Regions from separate parts of the Homo sapiens genome. Here region 1 is linked to region 2. Evidence: promoter capture Hi-C in 16 types of primary human blood cells and fetal thymus (Javierre and others, 2016). All regions are on one chromosome and are shown on one strand. The core of a region is centred on a gene start or on the middle of the fragment in contact, and the rest is flanking DNA. Distances in the headings are between cores, read along the strand shown.

Evidence for each region. Contacts are between HindIII fragments. The CHiCAGO score rates a contact against its expected background, and 5 or more counts as called.
Region 1: a fragment that was not itself captured here is called in contact with the fragment with the promoter of GNG12-AS1 in region 2 in 2 of 17 cell types (endothelial precursors and megakaryocytes); the score reaches 7.6 in endothelial precursors.

What each region holds. Positions count from the first base shown.
Region 1 is chr1:68,316,282-68,322,894 of GRCh38, forward strand. No RefSeq gene overlaps it. Among named protein-coding and RNA genes, the nearest start is that of WLS, 87 kb to the left of the region's middle. The HindIII fragment of the contact is 3,155 bases long and covers 3,104-6,258 here.
Region 2 is chr1:67,829,351-67,835,586 of GRCh38, forward strand. GNG12-AS1 (GNG12, DIRAS3 and WLS antisense RNA 1) reads left to right here and starts at 2,938. Exons shown (of 10, transcript NR_040077.1): 1 at 2,938-3,086. GNG12 (G protein subunit gamma 12) reads right to left here and starts at 4,117. Exons shown (of 4, transcript NM_018841.6): 1 at 3,994-4,117. The HindIII fragment of the contact is 10,966 bases long and covers 1,822-6,236 here.

The DNA of each region.
Region 1 (6,613 bases), core at 3,431-5,930, 490 kb after region 2:
GCCTGTAATCCCAACACTTTGGGAGGCCGAGGCGGGTGGATCATGAGGTCAGGAGATGGAGATCATCCTGGCTAACACAGCGAAACCCTGTCTGTACTAAAAATACAAAAACAAAAAAATAGGCAGGCATGGTGGCGGGTGCCTGTAGTCCCAGCTACTCGGGAGGCTGAGGCAGGAGAATAGTGTGCACCTGGGAGGCAGAGGTTGCAGTGAGCCGAGATCGCACCATTACACTCCAGCCTGGGTGACAGAGCGAGACTCCGTCTAAAATAAATAAATAAATAAAAATAAATAAAAAATAACTGGACATGATGGCGTGCACCTGTAGTCTCAAGTACTTGGGAAAGTGAGGGGGAAGAATTGCTTGAGCCCAGGAGGTCAAGGCTGCAGTGAGCCATGAATATGCCACTATACTCCAGTCTGGGTGACAGAGTGAGACCATGTCTCTTAAAAAAAAAAAAAAAGGGCTGGGCACGGTGGCTCACATCTGTAATCCCAGCACTTTGGGAGGCTGAGGCAGGTTGATCACGAGGTCAGGAGTTCAAGACCAGCCTGGCCAAGATGGTGAAACCCCGTCTCTACTAAATATACAAAAATTAGCTGGGCGTGGTGGTGGGCGCCTATAATCCTAGCTACTTGGGAGGTTGAGGCAGAGGATTGGAATTGCTCGAACCCGGGAGGCAGAGGTTGCAGTGAGCCGAGGTCGCACCAGTGCACTCCAGCCTGGGTGACAGAGCAAGACTCCATCTCAAAAAAAAAAAAAAAAAAAAGAAAGAAAAGAAAAGGGAAGAAATGAATTAGAAAATTCAAAATGATTTAAAAGTAATGTTATAAAGGATAGCAAATGAAAAAATGAATGAAGAACAGCTAAGCTGCATTTATTAGAGAGGAAATTTGGATAATAGAGTATTAGGGAAACCGAGGAAGAACTTGGGTAGGAAGAGGAGAAAGTGAAGTGCTGTAGAGAGGTGCTGGAAGTGCAGCAAGTGCATTGGCAAAACTAGGGTGACCTGTGTATAATGACAGACAGAATAGGGTATTAGAAAGTAGTGTCACAAGATTCACAGGGCTGCATGCTGCAAGATGCCCATCACAAATGTGGCACTTCGCAGACTAACCATTTTGTGAGATTGCCTTCCTTCAAGATCGAATTAGATGCTCATTTTAACCCAATTTCACCTGGATAAAACTCTAAAAGGTCGGAATAGGCTAGTGCCTCAAATTCAGTATTTTAACGTAATAAACGTCTTTTTCTCTCTCATGGCAATCCAGTAAAGGCCTGCAGAAGGATTCTGCTCCATGTGGTCATTCGGGAGCCCAGGCTCCTTTTGTCTTGTGTCTCTGCTCTTCTCTCCATTTTTCAAATTCTGTCCACTTAGCTAGTGGGTAGGAAAGGAGAACCAGGACTGCATGAAGGACATTTTTAACATTTCAGGCATAGATGTGGCACATGCCATGTAGGTTCATATTCCATTGGCTGAAATTCAGACACATGGTCTCAACTAATTGCAAGATGTGCTCCAGCCATGTGCCCAGAAGAAAAGCAGAACACTGGTATTTGTAAACACCAATAATCTCTACAACAGATGTCCTTGTCCTGTGTGTTGATGCTTTGCGAACCAGACTCCTTTGTTGAACACTGAGCCTAACTCCAATTTATTTTCTAAGTGAATTTAATTGTTTTTATTACAGTAAATGCTCATGGAAAGAATTTAAACTGGAGTCAAACATGAATATTTTCTAACATTATTGAATGGAAATAAAGCATCATACAAAGATATAAACAAAGTTTTCAAATTTCAATATGTTAGGGGAGGACAAAAGAATCTTACAAATCATTTAATTCAGTCTTCTAATTTTGCAGTTAACTAAACTGGACCAACAGCCCACATCTACGTAGATAATTAGTAAGAGAGCCAGGGTTTAAACCTAACTGGTGTCATGTCAGGCTTTAAACTACAAACAAGAATTTAACACATCAAGACAAAAAGTCTTCATGTTATACTTTTAAAAGGCACAGAACAATTAAACAGTTTAGAAATCTAATATGTCTTTAAATTACACGGATGCATTAAGGAACCTCATTTTTAAAAATTATTATTATTATTTTTGGAGGCAGAGTCTCGCTCTGTCACCCAGGCTGGAGTGCAGTGGCACTATCTTGGCTCACTGAAACCTCCACCTCCTGGGTTCAAGCGATTCTCCTGCTTCAGCCTCCTGAGTAGCTGGGATTATAGGTGCCTGCCACCATACCCAACTAATTTTTGTATATTTAGTAGAGACAGGGTTTCACCATGTTGGCCAGGCTGGTCTCAAACTCCTGATCTCAAGTGATCCACCTGCCTCGGCCTCCCAAAGTGCTGGGATTACAGGTGTGAGCCACCATGCCCAGCCAATCTCTTTTTTTTTTTTTGAGACAGAGTTTCACTCTTGTTGCCCAGGCTGGAGTGCAATGACGTGATCTCGGCTCACTGCCACCGCTGCCTCCTGGGTTCAAGTGATTCTCCTGCCTCAGCCTGCCTAGTAGCTGGGATTACAGGCATGCACCACCACACACACCCAGCTAATTTTGTATTTTTAGTAGAGACGGGGTTTCACCATGTTGGTCAAGCTGGTCTCGAACTCCCGACCTCAGGTGATCCACCCGCCTCGGCCTCCCAAAATGCTGGGATTACAGGTGTGAGCCACCATGCCCAGCTGCCAATCTCATTTATTTTTAACAGACATTTGCATTTTTAGTTGATGAGATGATAACAAGCGTCTACCAGAGAAGTGCCTGCTGTCCATGGGTTAATGAATTGGATTATTACAGCAGTGGAGGTGGGTCTCTTTCTTTAGGAAATAGTTGATCAATTTTCTTTGGCTTTCATAATCTTAAATTTAGATCAAGTCAGAGAAATGACAATATATAGCCTTTTGCTTTTAGGATAACAGTATTTTTCAATACACATAGACTTGTTTTGCAATAAATATTCTTTTTTTCTGATCTAAGTGCCACCATTTATCTCCTGTTCTTCTTTATATTTTGTATACACAAAGCCTAAATTGGGTTTGATAGTAGGAATTAAGGAGTTCCATATGAATGGATTTTCCAGACAAAGGAAGCTTACCTACATTATTGAAATTTAACAATTTTAGAAGGAAATCTTTCTAGGCTGTATCACCTACTTATCCATCACCTTTAAAAGAGTCTTGATATCTTCCCTTTAATAGAGAGCTGAGAACAGAGATTTGAAGCCAGACCGCTTTTGTTTAAGACCTGGTTCTGACTCTTACCAGCTGTGTGACCTCAGGCACGTTACTGTCTTGGTTTCCTCATTTGTAAAATAAGAATATTAGTATATTCTTCTTAAAGTAGTTGTGAAGATTGAAAGATAATATATATAAGGCACTTAAGACAGTGTCTGGTATATAATAATTACTAAGTATATATTAGCTCAAGGAGTCACAGTCTACAATGTGAGAGGGGGGTTGGCAGAAGTAAGATATTAATTAATGGAATATACAAGTGCATTTACCAACTTGTGATAAGTGATAGAAAAGGAAAGTACTAAGTGCTATTAGAGTGTTAACAGGGGAACCAGATTTAGCCTGGCATTGTGTTATAGAATTCTTTACATTTTAGTTTTTCCTACTGATGTGTGAATTTTTTGAAAGCAAGAAGCATGTCTTAATCTTCCTTATGTAACTGTCAGTAAGCACAGTCTCTGGCGCATAGCAGGGGCTCGAGACTACTTTGGAAGGAGAGATTAAAGGAAAGAAAGAAAAAATTCTACAGGCATCACCCGGAGAATATAAAGATATTCCAGGCAAGTATTCTGCAGGGGGTAGAGAATTATGCTCCTTGGTGACCCTGCCACCTGCAGAGGTGCAGTACCTCCCGCACAGGGGTCAGCATCCCAGTGATTCCTGGCATCTGCAGCTTAATGAGGATGTATCCATTTATGCATTAAGGTTCATTTCCCTTGTTCAAAGCAGTCCCTCAGGTCTTCCCGGAGGACTGGTTTGCTTATTTTATACAGGATTCTTAGAATACTGCTGACATGTTTGATAATCAGAGAGTCTTGGGAAGGGGGTTGCTTATCTTGGGGAAAGTCAGCGAGCTATGTTTGAAGGCAGGTTTTCTTCCTCTCTTGAGAGAGTTGAGCAGTTTGAAAATAGGCTGCCTTCAGCCTTGCTTGGAATCTGGAGTGAAAGAGAAATACAGGGATGCAGCACTGAAGGAGCCCTGCTGTTCTCCTGGCCTGAGGGCTGAATTGATTCCACAGGTAACCTAGCATGAGCCTTCCACTTCATATGGGAGAAAAGGGAGGAGCAGATGGCCAGGTGCCTTGCCCCAGGTCACACAGTGGCAAAGCCTGAAGCCCTCAGACTTGCACGCTCCCAGCTGACACCCTATACAACACATGGGGAATGGGAAATTGGAATCGACTTTAAAAAAAAAAATCTATGAATCAAAAGCCGGGTTTGTTGGGGCATACCTGTAGTCCTAGCTACTCAGGAGGCTGAGCTGGAGGATCACTTGAGCCCAGGAGTTCAAAGCTAGCCTGGGCAATATAATGAGACCCTATCTCTAAAATAATAATAATAATAATAAAATCTATGAATAAGTTAGGAAAGACAAGGAAGAGACTGACTTGTGCGAACCTCCAATTTTAAATTGTGTTAGCTTAGAAGAAAGACTATTTTTTAAAAATGTAATCAAAATAGTTGATGAGAACAACAGTAATACCAGAAAACACTTATATGTTATTTGTTATTTGCTTGGCATCATTCTGAGAGTTTTATATGTATAAATTCATTTAACTTCCATAACACTTCCTGGCCTAGATTTTATTAATTTTACACGTGAGGAAAACTGAGACATGGGAGCTTAAGCAACTTGCCCAAGGTCACACATTTAGTCGGTTGGAGAGTTAGAATGAAGATTTAGTTAAATATTTGCAGGAGCTGCGGAGTGTGCTGGCTAGCTGTCTTGCTGCTGCCACGGCTCTGCCCTCTGGCGGCTCACCCTGGCCCATGGATGAGGATGTCTGGCTAAGCCCAGGGCTTAATGGCCCTCTCCTGCTTTACAGAAGAACCCTGGAGTCGGGGCTCCTTGACATAAAACTGGTTTGTGTCCATAGGTTTATGACATTACTTTTTTATGTTGTCAGTGGGGCAGTGTCCTGGTAATTGCTGTCATTGTTCTATATTTGTCCCTGTATAGTCACTGGCTGAGAGCTTTCTTAAACTGAAACTCTAGAGCACTGAAGGATTTTAGATTTTTCTAGATACAAAATAGAATTTCAGGGGCATAGTGAATTTTGGGATCTGTCTTCAGCTTTCTTTATATCAGTGGAAATCCACCCCAGATATTAGAAATAAGGACCAGAAAAAAATTAATTAACTGTGATGGAGGAATCTAGTCATTGGACCAATTTGCTTTAAGAAACAAAAGAATTATGAAAAACTCAGAAATTTTTTTTTTTTTTTTTTTAGACAGGGTCTTTGTCACCTGGGCTGGAATGCAGTGGTGCAATCATGGCTGACTGAAGCCTCTACCTCCCCTGGCTCAGAGGATCCTCTCACCTCAGCCTCCTGAGTAGCTGGGACCACAGGCACGCACTACCACACCCAGCTAATTTTTAAGAAATATTTTTGCTGGGCATGGTGGCTCATGCCTGCAATCCCAGCACTTTGGGAGGCCGAGGTGGGCGGATCACCTGAGGTCGGGAGTTTGAGACCAGCCTGACCAACATGGAGAAACCTCATCTCTGCTAAAAATACAAAATCAGCCAGGCATGGTGGCACATGCTGAGGCTGGAGGCTGAGGCAGGAGAACCACTTGAACCTGGGAGGTGGAGGTTGCAGTGAGCCAAGATCGCGCCATTGCACTCCAGCCTGGGCAATAAGAGCGAAACTCTGTCTCAAAACAAAAAACAAACAACAACAACAAAAAAAAGCCAACATATTTTCGTAGAGATTACAGGCATGATCCACCACAACTGACTCAGAATTGTTTACAAGCCCTCAAGTTTGGAAAATCATCTGCAGATGTTAAGATATGTCCAGATAAGAAAACATCCAAATTGAACTGAGAGCACAAGGAACTACCCTGGACAGAATAAAAGTGAAAACTAGGTGAAAAAAAAATTAAAGAAAGGCAAGGGCATTACTGAATACTTACTATGTGCTAATCTTTGCCAAGGTACACTTCTCTGTCCCTTTAATGTGGTCCCATTCTCACTCGTTTCCCATTCTCAGATCTCACCTCAAAGCTTTGCTAAGAGAAGCAGTTAGGATCAACAAGAGAGTCTTGTTTCATTTCAGGAGCTCCACTAAGAAGGCTCCTGGAGTCGAACTTGTCCCAGGCTCAGAGGAAAGGGACGGTCAGACTCTATCCTTAACTAGGACCCAGGGGAGAAGACAGAAAAGAAAAAGAAAGTATGGAGGAAACAGAGAAGGTAAATTCTGTGTGGACTCAAAGGCAGCCTGTTGAGAACAGCAGCTGAACTGTTTTTAGCATCCTCTGGATTCCAAATGTGTCTGTGACCCAGCTACAAGAAAACTGGGCTCTTCCTGGTAATGGTTGATATCTGTATGCCCTTCCAGATCTCCGCTGCATAAAGGC
Region 2 (6,236 bases), core at 1,688-4,187:
AATTAATATTGCAAACCATTTCACATTTAAAAGACAAAATGATGATTGTCTAATTCTCTTACTTTTTAAGTACTATTTGGCAGGACTATTTAAATTACTGAGCTTTTTTTAGATTTGGGGGAAATATTAAAATTTTGTATAGCTGTTTTCCTGTTACAAAAATAATGCATGCTCATTATACAACATTTAGAGAAAATTTCAATAATTTAATGTTAACATTTATTGAATGTGGACTATGCACCAGGCACTATTCCAAATGCTATATACATAGATTAGCTCATTTATTCCTCACAACACTTATTGAAGCATAGATTAAGTAACTTGCTCACAGTCTACTCACCTAGAAGTATGAGCCAGAAATCATTATGTTATGTTCTAGGAGTGAAACGAATCAATAATTTACTCAATCAAATGCTTCAGTTGTTTCAGAGCATAATGTCATAGGCAAGAAACAATTAATAATCACACTGTACCCTTTATAGTTATTTAAAATTATTATAAACCACATCTCTGTGTCCCAGTGGAGCAATTAGTAAAATGAGAAATCATCTGTGGCATGAGCTAAGATCCTGGTTCAGCCCAATTCTGTGCACCTGACGTGCATTAGGACAAAAACAAGAAGCTTTAAAGGGTTTGTTTTAAAGATGGAGGCTTTTTTTTTTTTTTTTTTTGAGACAGAGTTTTTGCTCTTGTTGCCCAGGCTGGAGTGCAATGGCACGATCTCGATTCACCGCAACCTCCGCCTCCTGGGTTCAAGTGATTCTCCTGCCTCAGCATCCCGAGTAGCTGGGACTTCAGGCATGCGCCATCACGCCTGGTTTATTTTGTATTTTTAGTAGAGATGGGGTTTCTCCATGTGGGTCAGGCTGGTCTTGAACTCCCGACCTCAGGTGATCCGCCCACCTTGGCCTCCCAAAGTGCTGGGATTATAGGTGTGAGCCACAGCGCCTGGCAAGATGAAGGCATTTAAAAAATTTTTTAGATTTTAGGAAATGAGTCAACAATGTGATGAGTAGATTTCCTGAATTAACTGAACACCCAATCTCATGAAAGTTTACAAATAAAACAACGACTCACAATCAGCCTAACACTTCTTATGGCTTATCTGTTGGCCTTGGACATCAGCACATGCAAAAGTAAATAACCGGATACCCTTGGGTCACATGTTTTCATACTTTGATTAAGAATTACACTTGGTTAAAGATGAATACTTCTGTTCCTGGCTTAATTTCTTACCTAGGGCTAATAAACACAACTATTTGAAATATAAATTCTCTTTAAATGTAAAGGATAATGCAATGTTTCTGACTGTCAAAATTACTATGCAACTGTAACTTTAGCACTAAAAGCATATTAAAACTATTAATCCTTTAATCATAATTATTCATATTGCTGTGGTAGAAACATCACACATACACACACACAAACACACACACACCAGTTACTTTCTGTAGAATTTGAAATTGCTCTATCTAGCATTTCCGGAAGGTTCAAGCTGCCACCCTGCAATTTATCCAGTAGCCTGCTGCTTGAACAAGCTAGATAAATATCTAATAATTTTGACCATGTACTGCGTGTTAAGTCCAGTTTAAGTGTTTTCCAAAGACAAAGTTTTCATATACTTTCTGTAAAGCCCTACAGATAGAGACCATTATTATCCCCATCTTATAAATCAGACTGAAAAAGGTTAAATAGCTAATATTTTCATCTAAGTCTGTCTGACTCCAAAGCCAACACCCCAAATCACTGTTAAACAAGCTTCTCTTCCAAGTTAGGGCTCAGAAAAATTTACTTGCTTTCACAACTTGCCTTCCTAGGTTAAGCTTAAGCTGACATAAAACTCCAAAACAAAGCAAAACACAATAAATCACATAATTCTAATTTTAAAAAAAACTAATTTGATATTGGCTAACCACTTCCTCAAGTTTTCTGACCATGAAGCCCTTTGCTCTCACACTTTAATAAACCACCGATATTCTCTAACAAGTGACAACACAAATCCACAAATCTAATTGTTAGAGAGCTTTCAAGTAAGACTGGAGCTTTCTGGACAGGAAATTTTTATAATTCTATTTTTTTCAGGCTCTTGTGAAACACAGATTCACATTTTCATATATTTCTACACAAATCTAAGTGCTGTGTGCCCTGTTGGGGGTTCGATATCTAGTAAATTACATGAGTTAAATACAGCAAAAATAGGACTGCATTATTTATAAGGTCTAACGACGCAGTAGACTTTTCAGCATTTTTTGGACTTAAACCAGGGCTTTACGGCGCTGGTTAACTATTAGAGAAGGCAAAGGGACTGAACATTTTATCTGAAAGTCCTTTTATCACTTAAGACTCTGTAAAATTTTTGATTACTTTAAAAATTGTGTGTGTGAATAACGTTAGTTTACTAGAAAAGGGGCTTGCTAGTATATATAATTTGGTTAAAAAAACAAAAACAAAACAAAACAGCTCCTTACTTGAATGTGATTGTTTTGGCAATAGTAAAATTCAATCCCGTCGTTCTAGCGCTGCCTGCCTTCCTGGTTCTCCTAGGTGAGGGCCGCCATCCTGCGATAATTTACTTCGAGAGCTGCGAAGCGCTGGCAAGGGTGCAGTCTGGTGACTAGCACTTTTAAAAACAAAGCCAAACTCCGCTTTTAAAATAGAGAAGGCACAGACGCAGACCCTGCCTCTGACGACATCCAAAAGATTCATTATACACAGCCTATTCAGGCGAAGCTACAACCGCCCCAGGAAATATAAACTGTGTCGGCAAAGACAGCAGGGGGGAGAGGAAGTAACTGATGGGAAGGAAGCTAATCATGTGAAGTTTGTCCAACTCCACACGGTCTAATAAATTCCCGTTTGTTTCCGCTGGGAGCAGCCATTAAACGCGCCCTGACACGTGGGCGCAGGAACCTCCCTTCTACCTCTGGTGTTCAGAGATTTCCTTCTCGACCCACTTGTTTGTATACAACCACGCCCGGCAGGATGACCACCAGATGACCGGCCGCAGCAATGCCTCCACTCAGTCCCAGTTGGGCAAAGTTTCACTCCACTGCGGCGACGTGAACAAGAATCACGGCTTCCTTATCGTGAGTTATGAATGATTTAAGCCAAGTTTACAGGACACACAAAGCGAGGGACGAGTGAGTGACGGGAGGTGCTAAGTGACAGCGTTTTAAAGTTAGCTTTAATTGATATGCCCTAATTAAAATGAAAAACAGAATTCACCCTGCCCCACGGGATAACTGTCGGGGCAATAATTAAAAAAAAAAAAATCACCCAAGACTAAGCCTCAACCTCCCCCTTACCACTTGCAAATACAGTCTGCAGAAAAGCAGCCTCGGGTCCCCACTCGGGGGTCCCTCGCGGGGTGCGTCATATGGGCTCTCCCCTCTGCGACCCGCTATTTCCCTGCTAGACCCCCAGCGCCCAGCGGATTCCAAGGCTGCGCTCCCGCCGGCTGGTCCCGGGAGGTAGAAAGTAGGCAGAGGGGCGTGGCGTCCCTGTCGCCCCCACATGCCAGCCCTCCTCCAACGCCTGACACCACCACAAGCCACGGCTGGGAACACTGGGGGCCTCCCAACCCGGCGCGGGGCGCACGGCCGCAGGCTGGCGAGGAGGCAAGCGAGCTCAAGGGGAGACCTTTCCTTCCACCCCCAGCCCTAGCCCCAGCCACAGCCGTGGGGGCGGCTTCCCGCAACCTCGGGCGGCCGCCCGTCGAGGGCGCGCGCGCCGTTTCTGCCTCTGGGTCTCGGTGTCCCTTGGCCCCTTCCTCCCCCTCCCCCCGGTCTCCGGCGCCCAGCGCCCAGACCAGTCCCCGCCCTCCAGCAGGACACTCTTCCCTCCTTCCTTCCTTCCTCCGCTCCCTCCCTCCATCTCGCTTCCCAGCACCCGGGACTCGGAGGCGGCCCCCGAACTCGCTGGCCGACGCCCCGCGCCGCGCCCCGACCCCGCGGGGACCCGACTCACCACCCGCGCCCGCCGCTTGGTACTCACCCGCCTGCCGGTGCGCTGCCCCGCCGTCGCCGCCGGGACTCGGTCTCTAAGGGCTCCTGGAGACGGCTCCGACCTCTCCTCCTCCTCCTCCTCTTGCTCCTCCGGGCGCCGGCTCCGCCTCGCTGGGGTGGGCGGGGCGGCGGCGGCCCCGGGCTCCTTCCTCCGCGCCGGGCCCTGCCTCCCGCCCGGACGCCCTGGCTGTGCTGTCCCGGGCCGGGGAGCCCGCGTTGTGGCCCCGCAGGAGGAGGGGCGAGGCCTGGCCTGTGGAAGCTCGGTGGACGTCTGGTCGTCTTTGGCCATCCCCCTTCCTCTAATTCTCATGGAGGACCTGAAGTTCTAGGACTTGAGGGCCCCCACTCTACGACCCGCCCCCGCGCGGGGCCGCCCTGACTCCTCGCAAGTTTCCTTCGCGTGCGAACGCCTCGCTTGCCCCTGTGCCAGCGGTCCCCAGGGCTGTGAGGATGAGCGCTGCCAAACCCCTACACGAAAGTTTGGTTCTGTTCCAGAAACTATGGAGGAAAACACGCATAGTAACATTTAAAGGGCCCTGGGGCCACGGAGAGAAGTTTCCCAGAAAGTGGAGGTATAACTGCGGATTATAGAATTTGTAGTACATCCACCCACCATGAGCTTCCCGTCCATCTGCCCCGACCCCCTGAAATTTGTTTCCGAATGTCCAGTACCTGGCAGAGTTCTGCCTAATGAATTAATGGGATTTGGTTGGTCTTTTCTGGAAGGGTTCAAGGTCGGGTAAATGGAGGAGCCATTTCCGCTTCCACAGATTTTGTACTATTCCTTTGGCCATTCGACAGACATTACCAAGCACCCGCTGTGTACCAACTGCGATGCTAAAGGTGATGGGAGAGGTACAAAGATGAATCAGACAAGGGGCTTGCCTTCTTGGAGTCCAGAAAGAGTAAAGAAGCTGGATGTTCAGAAAACCACTCAGCGGACTTCTAGAGTATTCCTAGGTAGCCGCTTTCTTGTTTGACAGGGTGGAGAGAAAAGAGGTGAGGCCAAAGTAGGTCACTTAGAACCAGTGTGGGCAGAGTCCACACTTGAAATGGAGTCTGAAAGCATTGGTGAGGGATGTCTGTGTATTGAGTTTCACCAACTGAGGACAAGTGGGCCCTGGGGAATCTGGGAACTAGGGACTGCAGTCAGGGCATTATATTCCCTCTTGCTTTCCTTCTGACCCCTAAGCAAGTTTCAGGTTTAGTGAAATCATTTGCACATGTAGAAGAGGTGTCACAGGTAGAGTAGGTGTATGAATGCATGCCTTGCCCCAGGAGTGTGGTCTTAGCAAGCTGCGGATGGCGGTGGTTTGTGGGATGCAAGCCACAGACTGCCAGAGGGGTCTTTATTTCCTGTTCTGTTCAGCATTAGGAAATGCTTGACTGATTCACAAGTACTAACAGTTCAAATGATACACCTGAAACAGAACAGCTTGACACCACAGGGACTGAGAGGGTGGCATACTGGAGTTTGTATTTTTTGGCCACAGACCACAGAATAGACTCCTCTAAGCTATGCTACTAATTTTCCTTCCTGGGACACTTTATAGTTTAATAAGTGCTTTCATGTACTTACTCTTACTTTTCTCTCATTAGTCTCTTGAAAAAACCTGGAAGCTGGAACACCACATATTGCCACCAGTAACTTAAGCGGCTTGTCGAAGGTTTTTCTAGTTGAGTGCTGTTCAAAGTGTGGTTCATGGAATAGTGACAGTCTGCAAACCGTTACCCATCTACAAAGGGATGAGCATAGAAATTGAAGATGAGCATGTAGAAACTTACAGCAATTTGACAGAGTAATTTTATGTCTGTTAAATCGTTTAAAATGCAGCTTTGTATTTTATGTCTATTTCATTTTTCTTTTATGTGGAAAGGCATCAGCCTGCAACAGATTGAAAATAAAATATCACAGATAGTTTGAGAAGCACTGATCGAGATAGTATTAGGTTAGTACAGAAGTTATTACCGCAATTACTTTTGCATCAACCTAATAGCAAGGCAGGAATGATAAGAGCTAATACTTAACCAGCACTTTCTGCGTAGCAGATGTTGCTTTAAGTGCTTTACATATATTAAACCTTTTAATCCTCCTAACAACCTAAGGACGTAGTCACAGGAAGGTTAGGTCTTACAGAGCAAAACTGGCAGAGCCAGGATTCAAACCTTGGCTGGCTGACCCAATACTTTGTGCTTTTATCGATGCCCTTGATCCAGTGTCCTTTCTACTCT